Regions from separate parts of the Homo sapiens genome. Here region 1 is linked to region 2. Evidence: promoter capture Hi-C in human tissues and cell types (Jung and others, 2019). All regions are on one chromosome and are shown on one strand. The core of a region is centred on a gene start or on the middle of the fragment in contact, and the rest is flanking DNA. Distances in the headings are between cores, read along the strand shown. Region 1 overlaps DST (dystonin). Region 2 holds the start of DST (dystonin).

Region 1 (6,461 bases), core at 1,387-3,886, 300 kb before region 2:
TCCACCTCCCAGGTTCAAGCGATTCTCCTGCCTCAGCCTCCTGAGTAACTGGGATTACAAGTGTGTGCCACCACGCCAGGCTGATTTTTGTATTTTTAATAGAGATGGGGTTTCACCATGTTAGCCAGGCTGGTCTCAAACTCCTGACCTCAGGTGATCCACCCATCTTGGCCTCCCAAAGTGCTGGGATTACGGGTGTGACCCACCGCACCCGGCCTATAATGGCTTTTATATCTGCAATGTCTTTGCCTCAAAAGCTTGCCCTAAGTTTTTCAGTATTAGCAAATGTTTTACTAAACCATGAATTCACTTATACTGGAAGTCAGACATGTATTTTCAAATTCATGGTGAAATACTGTGTACCTCTTCCTGCACAAAAGATGCTTCCTGCACAAAAGAAGCAGTTTTTAACAGGGCTCAACCACAGGCACACCCCCAATCCAGTGCCACACTTGTATGTACTTCCCAGGGTCCCTTCTACCTCAAGCCATCTCGGGGGCTGCAAGCATTTCCCATGTACTAAAATCAATCTGACAATGTCAGTTTCAGAGACTCTCTCAAATTAAACCTTTAACCTCTCAACCAAAGCTGAGTGACTACAGCTAATCTGTTTTAATTGTTAATGTTTTACCTCCATTTTCTCTGTATAATAAGAGAAATGAGTAATACAAATTTTGCCTACTTATTAATGGCTTTCCAAGGGCAACTTTTGTTGAACTTCTAAAATTACAGAATTATTATAGCATTACTTAAGGGTTTACAATTGAATCAATCCTATGTAATTTCTACAGTGACACTAACCTTCAGTTCTACAGGATTATTAGGAAATGTTCTCTCAGACATTGTGGTCACATGGTGTCTAATCCATTGGATGAGGTAGTTCACCATATTCTGGTATTCAATCCATTTGACTTCAACATCCTAGAACAATCAAATGATAGAAAAGGTTCACATCTGTAGATAATAACATTCATATCTAAGACAATTTAGTCAGAAGTCATTCTGTAAATGTATGTATTTGAAGCCTGACAGACAGAACCAGCTAAATGTTTTCTTACTTTCACCCAGCCCCAATCCCTGTCACATAAACACCTGTAAAATTTGCTATCAACATTTGGCCACTAACACTAGCCTTATGAGTGCCAATTCTGATCCAAAGAAAGTGGCTGCCTGGGGTATTGTATTTAGAAGGCTTTTGGGGCTCAATCTAAGCACAGCAGAAAAAAATCCAAAGTCAATTTGGGGTGTTTACCAGGGCTCAAGATTGGGCAGTAACAACTTGCATAAGCCAAGTTAGTTGCCATCTTTGCCAACTATTTTAGATCTAAATCTACTATGTATCTCAAACTCAAAAGACTTACCCAATATATAGGAAACCAGATATGTACACAAACTACAGGAAATGTATATGGTGGGATTATCCAAGTACTCAGTAGGCAAACTCTTTAAAAATGGAGGAAACTTGGAAGGCTGCCAACTGCTCTGTTTAAGTATTTGATGAGTGCTTATTATTATGTTCAAAGGTTGTGTTGAGTGTTATAATAAAAAAATACTTTAAGATATAATACCTATTGTCAAGGAGTTACTGTCTAAATGCAGAGGCAAGAGAGATACATAATATAAACAGGCAAAATGAAGAGCAGTATTTAATTAAGTGTTGAAATGTTGAAATAACTAAAACGGGTAGTACATGCTAGTTGAGATAAGAATCAGGCAAGCATATCTGTGCCTTAAAATAGTTTCTAAAGGCTTCTTGGGAAAGGCAGTATCTGAGATGTTCTGCAATGACCAGTAAGTAATTATTGATGGGGGGAGGTGAGTGGGGGTGCTGAAAGAGTGGATAAAAGGGGAGTCCCAAGTGAGTCAGGACATTGACATGGAAATGTCCTGGCTACCAGTAAACAGTTCATATTGGGAAATCATAGCTAAAACATGTAGGTAAACAGAATAAATATTTGCAGTTTTAAATGTCAGAATATCTAGATTGCATTTAACTTTGCAAGGAATATGTAGACACTGAAAATTTTCAAGCCAAAGACATCAGGTTTTAGACAGATTAATTTGGCAACAGTGTGCCGAGGCAGTGGGAAGAAGAACAAAATGGAGACAGAAAGCTGTAGGAAAGCTATCGGCCTAGTTCTGCAGTAATAGGCAGCAGGATCAGCATGAAGGTTGGGAGAAGCAGCAGCAAGAGATGGCCAAAGAAACATTCTGAAGCAACGCTCAACATTGAATCATCAGGGGTGAGCATGGGAACAGGCTACTCAGGGATCAAAGAGCATGAAGCCTTTGAAAAGAAGAACCTGAGGAAGAATATGGAAACAGGTCTAGAAACAGCACAGAGAACTGACAGAAGCAATCAGAAAAGGGAGCTCCTAATCCAGGGGAGCTAATCAAAGATGAGCTCCTAAATCTTCAAAGTAATGTAGGGGAAAAAAGGTGTCTGCAAAGAGGAAGGCAGAAATCCAAGTGAAGGGGATCATCCCCAAATATGTGACACATACTGGGCTTCCTGTTCTCTTCAGAAATGCATAAGCACTTGTTAGCATAACCACCCAAAAAAAAAAAAAAAAAAAAAAAGCATCACTGAAGTGAGTTACACAAACCTTTAAGAAATAGTAGACTAATAAACAGCCCAAAGCTATGTGTCAGAGACCTTTCCCTGCTTACTAAGTGGCTCTGCTAATTTGGCCAAATCCAATAATTTTCCTCTGGAGTCCTCCTTTAAATCACAAAAATGTTATCAAGCCAACTTATTTCATAGAATCGTATGAAGTAACAAATTTGAAATTGTTTTCAAAACTGAGATATTCTATACATACAAAAGAATAGCAAATACAGCAATGTAAAACGGCAGCCAGCTAAAAATGGAAAACTCTAAATTTCAGAAAGTTAAACCTTTTATTTATAAGATGATCGGTAACTATAAATAGCCTCTTTTATTTATGACACAAAAGTTTTAATGAGTTATACTTTAAATTTAATGGTAGAATAATGTCATGAAATACATAGAATATCAATTCATCAAACAGCATATTAACTCAAATTCTTTAAAATATATTCAACATTCAAAAACTGCAAAAATCATTATCAATAAATGCAGTCAATTGGTCATTACTGAATCAACAGCTTCCGGTGTGGAAAAATCAATACTCACATTTGCACCAATGCCTTCCCCACCTTCAGGGACTTTAGGAAATGCATCATAGAGAGATGACACGTAAGTTATTACTGATTTTTCATCAGGTGAGGAGACATCGACATCTAAAAACAGCAACATAAATTAATTATTTCACAATGTTGATAAATTACTTTTGATCAGACTTTCATGCCAGTCCACATATAATCAAGAAAATAACTCACCTTCAGGGTCCAGAAGTCTTATAACACCAATTTTTTCTGCTACGTAAAAAGCATGCTCTAAATTTGCAAGGTTGCTTTGAACAGCAACAGTATTCATATCTATCAGGTCCGGCCTAGGAAAAAATTCACTGTGTTAATTAGGTTTTCTCATGTGCCAATTCAACATTATATAATTATATAGGTTTCCATTTACATAACAACATCTGCTAATATTAACACCAAGCCTGCGTTAAAATGCAGAGACTTTCATCAAACATTTAACATTGCTCACTTATCTCAGAAACTTCTGTATCGAAAGCAAATATAACAATGAAAATATAACAATTTGAACATATATAAATTTCAACAAAGTCTACAAATATATCATAGTCAGAATATATATGAGTATTTGTCCTATTCAACTGATTTAAGCTACGCTACTCCAACAGCATCTTTCCAATCCAACCAGCATCCTGTCAATGTTTTTCCTCTAAGACAAAAAGCTTGTAGCTTAATTCAGTGCTGTGTCCATGGCCTCCCCATTGCACCATACCCTTTCACATCATCTTTGTCTTCTATAATCCTAGTCATTCTTCCAAGGAGAGATCAAGCTCCACCTCCTCTATGGAGCCTGGCTGATCTTCCTAGCCCTTATTTCTGTCTCTGTTTCCTGAACTCATACTTCCAGCCTGCACCCCACGATATGGCACTTAGGATAATCTTAGACTCCTTGCCCTATTAATTCACTGGTTCGTGTACATGTATATGTTGTTTCTCCCAAACCGTCAACTCCAAGATAGCAAGTACTATGTATTAAGAAAATTTTGTATTTTATCCTTCTGCTGTAATAAAGAATGATATATAGTACACCCTCAACAAATATCTACTGATAAGTTGGTAAGTAGGTTGGTTCCTTAGTAATCTGAATCATAAATGAATGTCTATAATAAGCAATAGTTTATGTTTTCATGAGCACACATGTGTGCATGTGCCCCCCTACACACACACACAGTCACACATCCCAGACTTCATATCTTTATAATTTGTGAGATTTACGTAACACCCTAAACCATGCAGAAACTTTGAAGCTAGCTCTATCTACATGAGAGAGGAAAAGATTCTTCAAATGCTTCTTGTAGAGAAAGTGGCAAAATATGGACATTGGAGACTTCACTCAAGGCTAGAAGCCAGTCAGGAAACTTGGATCTCAAAAACAAAGCATTGAAAGACTACCGGAACAATGTGGAAACAGGAAAGCCTTCAAAGAGTGGTACTCACCACCCAAAAAAATCACTGAGTAAGAACCTGTTGATAGCTTACAAAGAAAGGCTCTCTACAAGCTCCACAAGCATTCCTGTTTGCTCAAAATAATCATTTGGGAAACCACAGAAAGAGTGGGAGGGCTCAAAGGTAGTGTGGGAGAAATGAAATGCAGATTATTTTGTATACTACTTGGCAGGCTGCTTATATGAAAAGCTGTTTGAAAATATATCATTAATATTAGAAAGCTAAGTGGCAATTTGTACTCTTTTATGGTGAGAAAACAGACCTTTCAAGAAAATCTTATACTTTTATATCACTTTGCACTGTTCATAACCTGGGAATGTGGTTACCATCACCTACATGCTCATATTCCAGGAAATTATTAGGAAATCCTTTAATGTTTTCAACCTGCCACCAATATGACCACTCTTTTAAAAGTGACCCTACAATTATTATAGGAACAATAAATCCATTGACAACTATGGAAGTAAATAACAGACCTCCAAAAGTAACATTTTTTATTCACATAGAAACATCTGAAGAATCTGCCAACCTCAAGATTAGTAAACAGGTATGTATAGCAGTCTAGACAAAAACAAATATCTGAAGTTCTTTCAATAAAAAATCGTTTTGTTTCCGTAAAATTTGCACCTTTTAGGGAAATAAAAAACAGACTTTGTAAGTCTGCCAAATCTCAGAACAAGACATGGCATGTTATTATGAGAACCCTGCCATTAGCAAAGAAAGTAAACACTGAGTAATCCTAGAGGGAATGAATAAAGTCATTGAAGAATCAAGTTTTTCAGCTAAGAGAATAAAACATAAAACTTCCTTCAGAATGACATAGTCATTTCAACACAAAAGCAGCTGTAGAATACAATGAGTCTGAGTAAGTCATCTCTTTTATCATGATGTTTAACACTTTAATGGAACAAAAACTGAAATGGTTTTCCTCCACTAAAAGACAGCAGATAAAGAAAATTAGTTAAACAAAAAATGGGAAAAGGGAAAACTTTAAAAACCACTACAAAGCTGGGTGCGGTGGCTCATACCTATAATCCCAGCATTTGGGAGGCTGAAGAGGGCAGATCACCTGAGGTCTGGAGTTTGACACCAGCCTGACCAACATGGCGAAACCCTGTCTCTACTAAAAATGCAAAAATTAGCCAGGCGTGATGGCAGGCGCCTGTAATCCCAGCTACTCGGGAGGCTGAGGCAGGAGGATCACTTGAACCCAGGAGGCAGAGGTTGCAGTGAGCCGAGATCATGCCACTGCACTCCAGCCTGGACAACAAGAGCGAAACTCCATCTCAAAAAAACACAAAAAACCACTATGAAAAAGTAATAGCCTATAAAATTTAAAATGCTATTCCTCCCTTAGCTCATATCCTAACAGAGTGGTGGTCCCTTTGTCTTTCAAATCTGTCTTTCCTCTACCTGCCTGAAGCATCCAGAAGACGCCTGTGCTGTGTGTGTCCTGTCCACCACCTTCTTTCTTCATAGTCTCACTGGGATAACACAACCTTTAAAAACTTCATTTATTTTTCACACATAGAAGATACTTACTTTCATTCTAAAGGTTTCATTTCTTCGTAACATCTTTTTGTGGAATGTTAACAGGAAATGTCATTTCCATCTTAGGTTTGACTAACCAAAGAGCATTAGACTATATTATAGTGACCATGTTCTCATGTTATATTTTAGATAGTTGAACATTAACTATTGTAACTTGCCTGTTTTATGGAAACCTTTCAAAATCATATAATGTGATCCTTTGCCACTTAAAGTAATAAATGCTAGTCTTTTTATGGAAAAAAAGGCCATTCTCTTATTTTTTTTATTATTCTATGATAATG
Region 2 (6,227 bases), core at 1,305-3,804:
GCTTTAGCTGAAATATCTGATGGCTAGTATAATAATCCAAAACAGGATTATTATTCTTGTTCTATCATTTATGTGTGTGGAACTGGGTATCTCTTTTTAAAATCAAAATCTTATATTTTGGTGTTTGCACTCTGTCAATTATTTACTTCTCATCACATCTGAATGGGCTGTTCTATTGAATTAATCTCATATTCAAAAATTGTTGCTTTACGATAGTCCCGGTTTTTGATGTTTTCCATAAACTTTAATTAAGTAATTTAATAAAGACTTGGAAATTTGCAAACATTATCGTTTATTTTTATACATTTTAAAATTCAATTTTACAAAATATAATGATAGCTACCAAATACTGAATACTTATTATGAACTAAGTGGGATTTTTCTTTACACAATTTCTTGTAATTTCCTCCACCCTCCCATAACCCTGCAAGGTACTAATGGCCCTATCTTACAGATGGGTAAATCGAGGCACCGAGATGTATCACACAGCTAGTTAATGTAAAGCCAGGAATGGAACCTCTGATTACCTCACTTATCCTCTCAAGAATCCTAAACTGAATAGAGTTCTCACCTTCCAGGGCTATATACAGTAGAATTACTCTTTGTGCAACATTTTAATGATATTGCAATAATACAGTTAAAGTTTTTAAGCAACTAGAACCCAATAAAACATCTAGGGTGGCATAAAATATCTGATTAACTAATGAAATGAAAGGCAAGATAACTTCAGGTAAATGGAGGGCGTTTAACTATGAAGTCTTTGCCAACATGAGTAAACTGCACCAAGCAGCAACCTCCAAGCCTGGCGGCGTGCAACTTTCCTAAAAAGAGGGGAAATTATCTTAGGATAAGTGGAGGTTGGCCTGAAAACTCCTAAAGAAATCCTAGGTCAAGGAGCGCTTGTGTTTCTTCAGTGGAGCTGGTTCCTGGGTGCAGTGATTAGGAGTTACTTGCCCTAGAGGGATGGTCCACGTTTTGAGAGTGGAGACTAGCACAAGCATTTAAGCACACACTACCATCATCGCTTTGCAAAAATCATCAGATGGTCCCCAATAAAACATGGAGAGCTTTAGGAGAAAACAGAAATGTAAACTTGAAAATCGAAAATGAAATGCATATGGATCAAATTGTTCTGCACTAACCTCTTCGTTTATCCAAGTGAACAACCAGAGTCAACTGACAGCACCCAGAAAACACTTCCACCAGCAAAATATAAACTGTAAACTCAAGTGACATCCACCCTGTGGCTAAGTTTTTTAAGGTCTGCAGCACTTTTAGGGTTTGCCTTTTCCCCTCTTGTACAACAGCTCCACTACACAAGAAATTTGCTAAAACCGTTCGCTGGGCACTAATATGAAATCACTTAAAAGGAAACATGCCACTTTCGGCTAGGGGACAGCATGTTCGTCATTCAGTGTCCTACTGGTTTCTTAACACGCATATAATTAATATTGGTACTCAGGAAAGAGAACTTCTTCTGACCTTGAGCGTGCGCGCTAAATAAATTACCTCAGAACGAAAGTGGTGCGATCTCAAAACAGCATCTGGGGAGAAAAGAGATAAATGAGACTTCATTTAACTCCTTGTTCTTCACCTACCGAGTGACTCATGACTTACCTGGGAGACCAGGGTTGGGAAAGCACATCGCAGACTCCTGGAATTCGGTGGGACATCCTGGGGGAGGGAGGAGGAGTCCTGGGGCCATCGGTCTCTACGTGATTTCTCCGCGAGAAGTTTGCATGAAAGTTCTGGGGGAGTTGGGGAGCCCCGAAGTTTCCATGCCTTACTTTCTTACCCCTACGCTCCAGCGAAGGATGCGTGAAGGCGAGGCTGGCGCAGCCCCGGACTACGCTCAAATTACCCTTAAGGCTTTAGCAAACTGACTAAAAATTTGAGTTCTTTCCTCCCCTCCCTGCCCTCGGCATCGCCGTGGTTATTCAAACCTGGGAGACTGGAGGGCGGAGGTGACGGCAAAAAGGGCAAGGGGCGTTAAAGAAACGCACTCAGCCTGGGGAGTGGGCAATGATGGGGCTAGGGGCAGCCGAGGAGAAGGGAGCGAGCCGCGCTTCACTCTCCAAATCGGCTTAATTGTTCCTGGTAGCCCGCAGAAACCCGTCGCGGCGTGTCTTACCTCGGCTTCTTGAACGACCCGAGAAGACCGATTTCATCGGATGCCTCCCTTTCTGGAGCTTGCGGTGCCAGCAGCAGAAGAAGACGATGGTGGCGATGGTGCCCAGCAGAAGCAACAAGAGGAAGAGGGCACATTGGATGCTGTAGGGTCTCAGCAAGACGAGGAAAGCCGCGGCGATCATGGTGCGGGCGAGGCGAGGGCGACTCGACGGCGGGGCTGGAGGGCGGCGGCACAGGCACCCGCGCTGGGCGCACGCCGGGACGGCGGGCACGGGTGAGCGCGGCTCAGCGCGTCATGCCTGGCGCTCGCGGCCCCGCGCCCAGCCCAATGGCTGCGCACCCCGCGCCAGCCGCGCTACGCGAGTGATCCAGGGCTGCGGGGAGCGCTTGCCATGACTCAGCAGACAGCGACGAGGCTGCGACTCGGCGGCTGGGATCCTCTCCCCTCCCTCCCCAGGCGCCCCCGCCCCCGTCCGTGCGCAGCCCCCGGGCGCAGCCCCGCCGGGGACGCGGCGAGTGGGGAGGAGCAGCGCCGCCGCCGCGGCCGCCCGGGCCCCGCGCATCGTCCTGCGGCCGCCGCCGACCTCAGCATCCCAGAAGCCGGGCGCACGTGGGTCGGGGCGGGGACGCGGCGCTCAGGCTGCAGCCGCGGCAGCCTGCGGGGGGCGGGAATGGGGCGCCGCGGCGGGGGCTCGGCTGATGACATCACGGCCAGGCTGCGGCAGCGCGGGCGCGCGGACATGGCTGCGGCGGTTTCGGCGGCGTCCGCGGGCTGCACCCGGGCCTGAGAGCCCAGCGCCCTCCCGCGGGGCCGCCCGCCAGTCCGCGCCGTCCGCGGGTGCATTGGCCGGGTGCCTCTAGCTTCCCGGACACCCGGAGCTTCCGCCTATCCAGCCTCCCTCGGCCAAATTGCTGCGGAGCCCGTCGTCAGGGGGCGCCAAGGAGCCAGGGGGAAAACCGAGAGGCGCTGACAGGAGCCTCCCGGCGGTGCTACCCTCCACCTCCCACCTCCCTGCGCCCCGCCCCGAGGTTGGGGCTTTGAAGAATGCAGCCGGGTGAGCTATTGCTTGTGGGGGTTTCCTCGCACTCTGAAGCGCGAGCGCCGGGAAGGGCCTTCCCTGGGAATTGGGATACTCCAGGAACGGGAGGCCCACTCCTCTCCAAGCCTCTCTAAACTAGGAGCGCTCCGGGGTAGTACGCTCTGGTCGGCAGAGGTGAACTCTTCCACCCCAAACTTGGTGCTTATCTCGCAGCTAAGAATTGGGCACTTTCGATCTTCTTGTATCCCTGGGTTTGCCCTAAAACCCTGACTCATTTAGTGCATTTGAAGGGCAAGGCGATTTCAGATTTAGGGACCTGGCAGATGAAGTAAGTTGGTACTTGGCTTATAAACATTTGGGGGAGAAATTTTTTAGGGAGTGTGAGGCAATAGTGATCTCTCACACTTGCAGGCACACTCTGTCTCCCCTTTGTCCCCTCCCCACGTTTCTTCATAACCAGCAAAAAGTATATGGCAGTTGGTGGCCAGGGGATTTAACACTGATGCAATGCCAGCACGGAAGGTATAGCGAGAGCGCTGCAGTGTGCCTTTCTGCGGACGGCCACGGCCACCTGGCCAGGAAGCGGCTGCTGCAGCAGTCATTCTGCGGCATCTTGCGGCCTTGGCGGGCGGTGCTGTGCCGCGTTCTGCTGCCCCCAAGGCAATGCTGGCTTTCCCTGTGTGGGGCTGGATTGTTTGTTTCATTTACTCGCATAAGAAAACTTTAATTATAGTGACAAGGTAACACTTGACTGCATTTGCGGAGTTTCTTATAACAACTGTATTAGCCTCTTTTTTGGAATATTTAATAGACTGAAGAAATTGTGTCATAAAAATTTATAAAAATTTGAAAAGCAGGTAAATAATTGGGAGGAATAAAAGTTTTATTTGCTTGTAGTGATCTCAAAATCAGTGTTGTTTTCCAACTATACAAAACCGTACAGCTCTGCATGAAAGCTTAATCATTGATGTCCTTAAAGCCAGTAACATATTACCGTGTGTAAGTATTAAACCTAAAAAGGCATTGGTTAATGCAGTCTCTTAGTGCCAGATTCATAAGCATGGAAAACAACAGATACGTTTTGTTTACAGCTGGTTTCCTTAAACAAAATAAACATTCGAATTGTTGACATGTTGCATCTCATTCATTCAGTTGTTTTGGATTGAACTCAGAAGGGCCCTTGCTTGGAGACACTGCATAAGGTGGGAATTTTGAATGGCAGCATGTAGGCTGCACTGAATTCCAGGATAGGCTTCATGGGTCTCTAGCACTCAGAGTGGGTGACAGGTAGCACTACATCATGTGCATATGGCTAAAGGTTTCTTGATACCGCAGCCCACTGCAGTGAGAAACTATTCAACAATTATGCAGAGGTTATTGAAGAAAATCCTGAGAGTTTGCAATGTGTGGCACATCAGGAAAGGAAGAATTCTCCACCGCATTGACTCAACAATGGCATGGTGGAGTAATTTTAAACAACAAAACTGAACTAACCGTGTGCAGACATTGGGGGAAATAACTAACAGAATTTTGGAAGGTCATCTTTATGCTTCTCATTGACTGAAATTTGTAAGTGAGCTGAAATAGCCTACGTATCCTTGAACAGAAACATGTCAAAGACACACAGAATAGTATTCAAATTGCCCCAAACGCTATATTTTTTTAACAACAAAAAGCAACTAAATAGCTATTATGGTTTTCTGAGCTATGACTTTAGCACAACTGTTATCATCCTGCGTCTTGCTGCAGCCATTTATAAGTTTCAAGTGCACACAAGAACATCATTTATCTCTCTTGGCAGGCAAATGCTTAACTGCCATGCAATAGGATTATAGATATTTCTTTTTAGATGCATTCATTTCTGTTCTTTCCATCAGTTGTCTTAAAGATACTAATAATAAACAAACCAAATCCTTGAAAGAATTTAGTATTTAGTTCCATTGTTATTTTCTGATTTGTTTGTTGCTAATTTATCATTTTTTCCAAATAACAGCATACATAGTATTAATTGCTTCTGTCTGTGTGTTTATGTGGTGCCTAATGCATTGCGGAATTCAATAAATACTAAATCAGCCAAGCAGTGCTTTTTGGAAGTTAATTTAGTAGAAATTATACCTTGCCTTCCTGGTAGGTTTTTGCTTTAAAAAAAGAATAATTGACATTGTATAAAAGTCACACACAAAAAAAATTGTTAAGTTTGAGGATAGGGATGGAGGGGGAGAGCCATGGCCCAAATCTTTCATACAAAAAAATGAAAATTCATAATGGAAAAGTATGTATAATTTGTTGACTTTTTTTATGAGAGTAAGTTATCATTGTCACCCAAAAGAAGACAAAATAGTTGGGAAAGATAGCTAAGAGAGTTTGATACCACGTATGTAGAAGATGGTCCATTATATAGCCCTTCTTCCCTTTAGATTCTCAACCAAATTGGGAATAGACACAAGGAACCATAAGGAAATTAAAATATTGTGTTAACTCTATTCAAGATAAAGTCAGATTGAAGAACACAGCTTAGCCTCAAAGCCAAAATGGGGCATCTTATTCCTTTTTTCTTACTTGGCATGCTCACCCAGTCCACAGCTGAAAAATGACAGGCCTCCCCAGCATTAGGGCAGGAAGGAACCCAACCTGTTCAAATTCCGGCATAAACACCAAAGGCAAAGGGAAGCCTGACACTTTATAATCCATAAGGCGTTCAGCATGTGTGAGCAAGAGACAGGCCCATGTGTGAGAAGGGAATTTTATACATCACTCCTGCCCACTAATGGGTAGTAGGCCCTCCTGAGTTTTTCCATCACTAAGTCTTTTCATTCCCAAAAGATAGCAGTGAGTAAGGTGCTTTAAAAAGGCGGCAGAAACATCTTCCTCAGTACTTTCTTAGAGGCAGAAAGTTGTGGCACAAGTTCCTAATGTATGGATCAAGAAGAAACATCAGAAAGAAGAAAAGTTTCCACCCTAAGCTGTGTAACAACCAGTTGAGAAAAAGGGAGGAACTGAAGATAACTCAGGTTTTGAGCTAGGGTAGAGGAATAATTTGGAAGGAGAAGATAACAA

Evidence for each region. The method cuts DNA at HindIII sites, captures the fragments that hold promoters and counts their contacts. A contact is called where the count stands out against the background at its distance.
Region 1: a fragment that was not itself captured here is called in contact with the fragment with the promoter of DST in region 2 in 1 of the 25 tissues and cell types used here (hippocampus).

Annotation. Positions count from the first base shown.
Region 1 is chr6:56,647,769-56,654,229 of GRCh38, forward strand. DST (dystonin) reads right to left here. Exons shown (of 104, transcript NM_001374736.1): 11 at 3,364-3,476; 12 at 3,158-3,264; 13 at 802-921. Among named protein-coding and RNA genes, the nearest start is that of DST-AS1, 190 kb to the right of the region's middle. The HindIII fragment of the contact is 5,250 bases long and covers 12-5,261 here.
Region 2 is chr6:56,952,276-56,958,502 of GRCh38, forward strand. It overlaps DST (dystonin), which reads right to left and starts at 2,555. Exons shown (of 104, transcript NM_001374736.1): 1 at 2,132-2,555; 2 at 1,510-1,544. The coding sequence starts at 2,312. BEND6 (BEN domain containing 6) reads left to right here and starts at 2,832. Exons shown (of 7, transcript NM_152731.3): 1 at 2,832-3,185. RefSeq lists an enhancer at 1,538-2,169 and a silencer at 2,331-3,020. The HindIII fragment of the contact is 8,212 bases long and covers 1-5,649 here.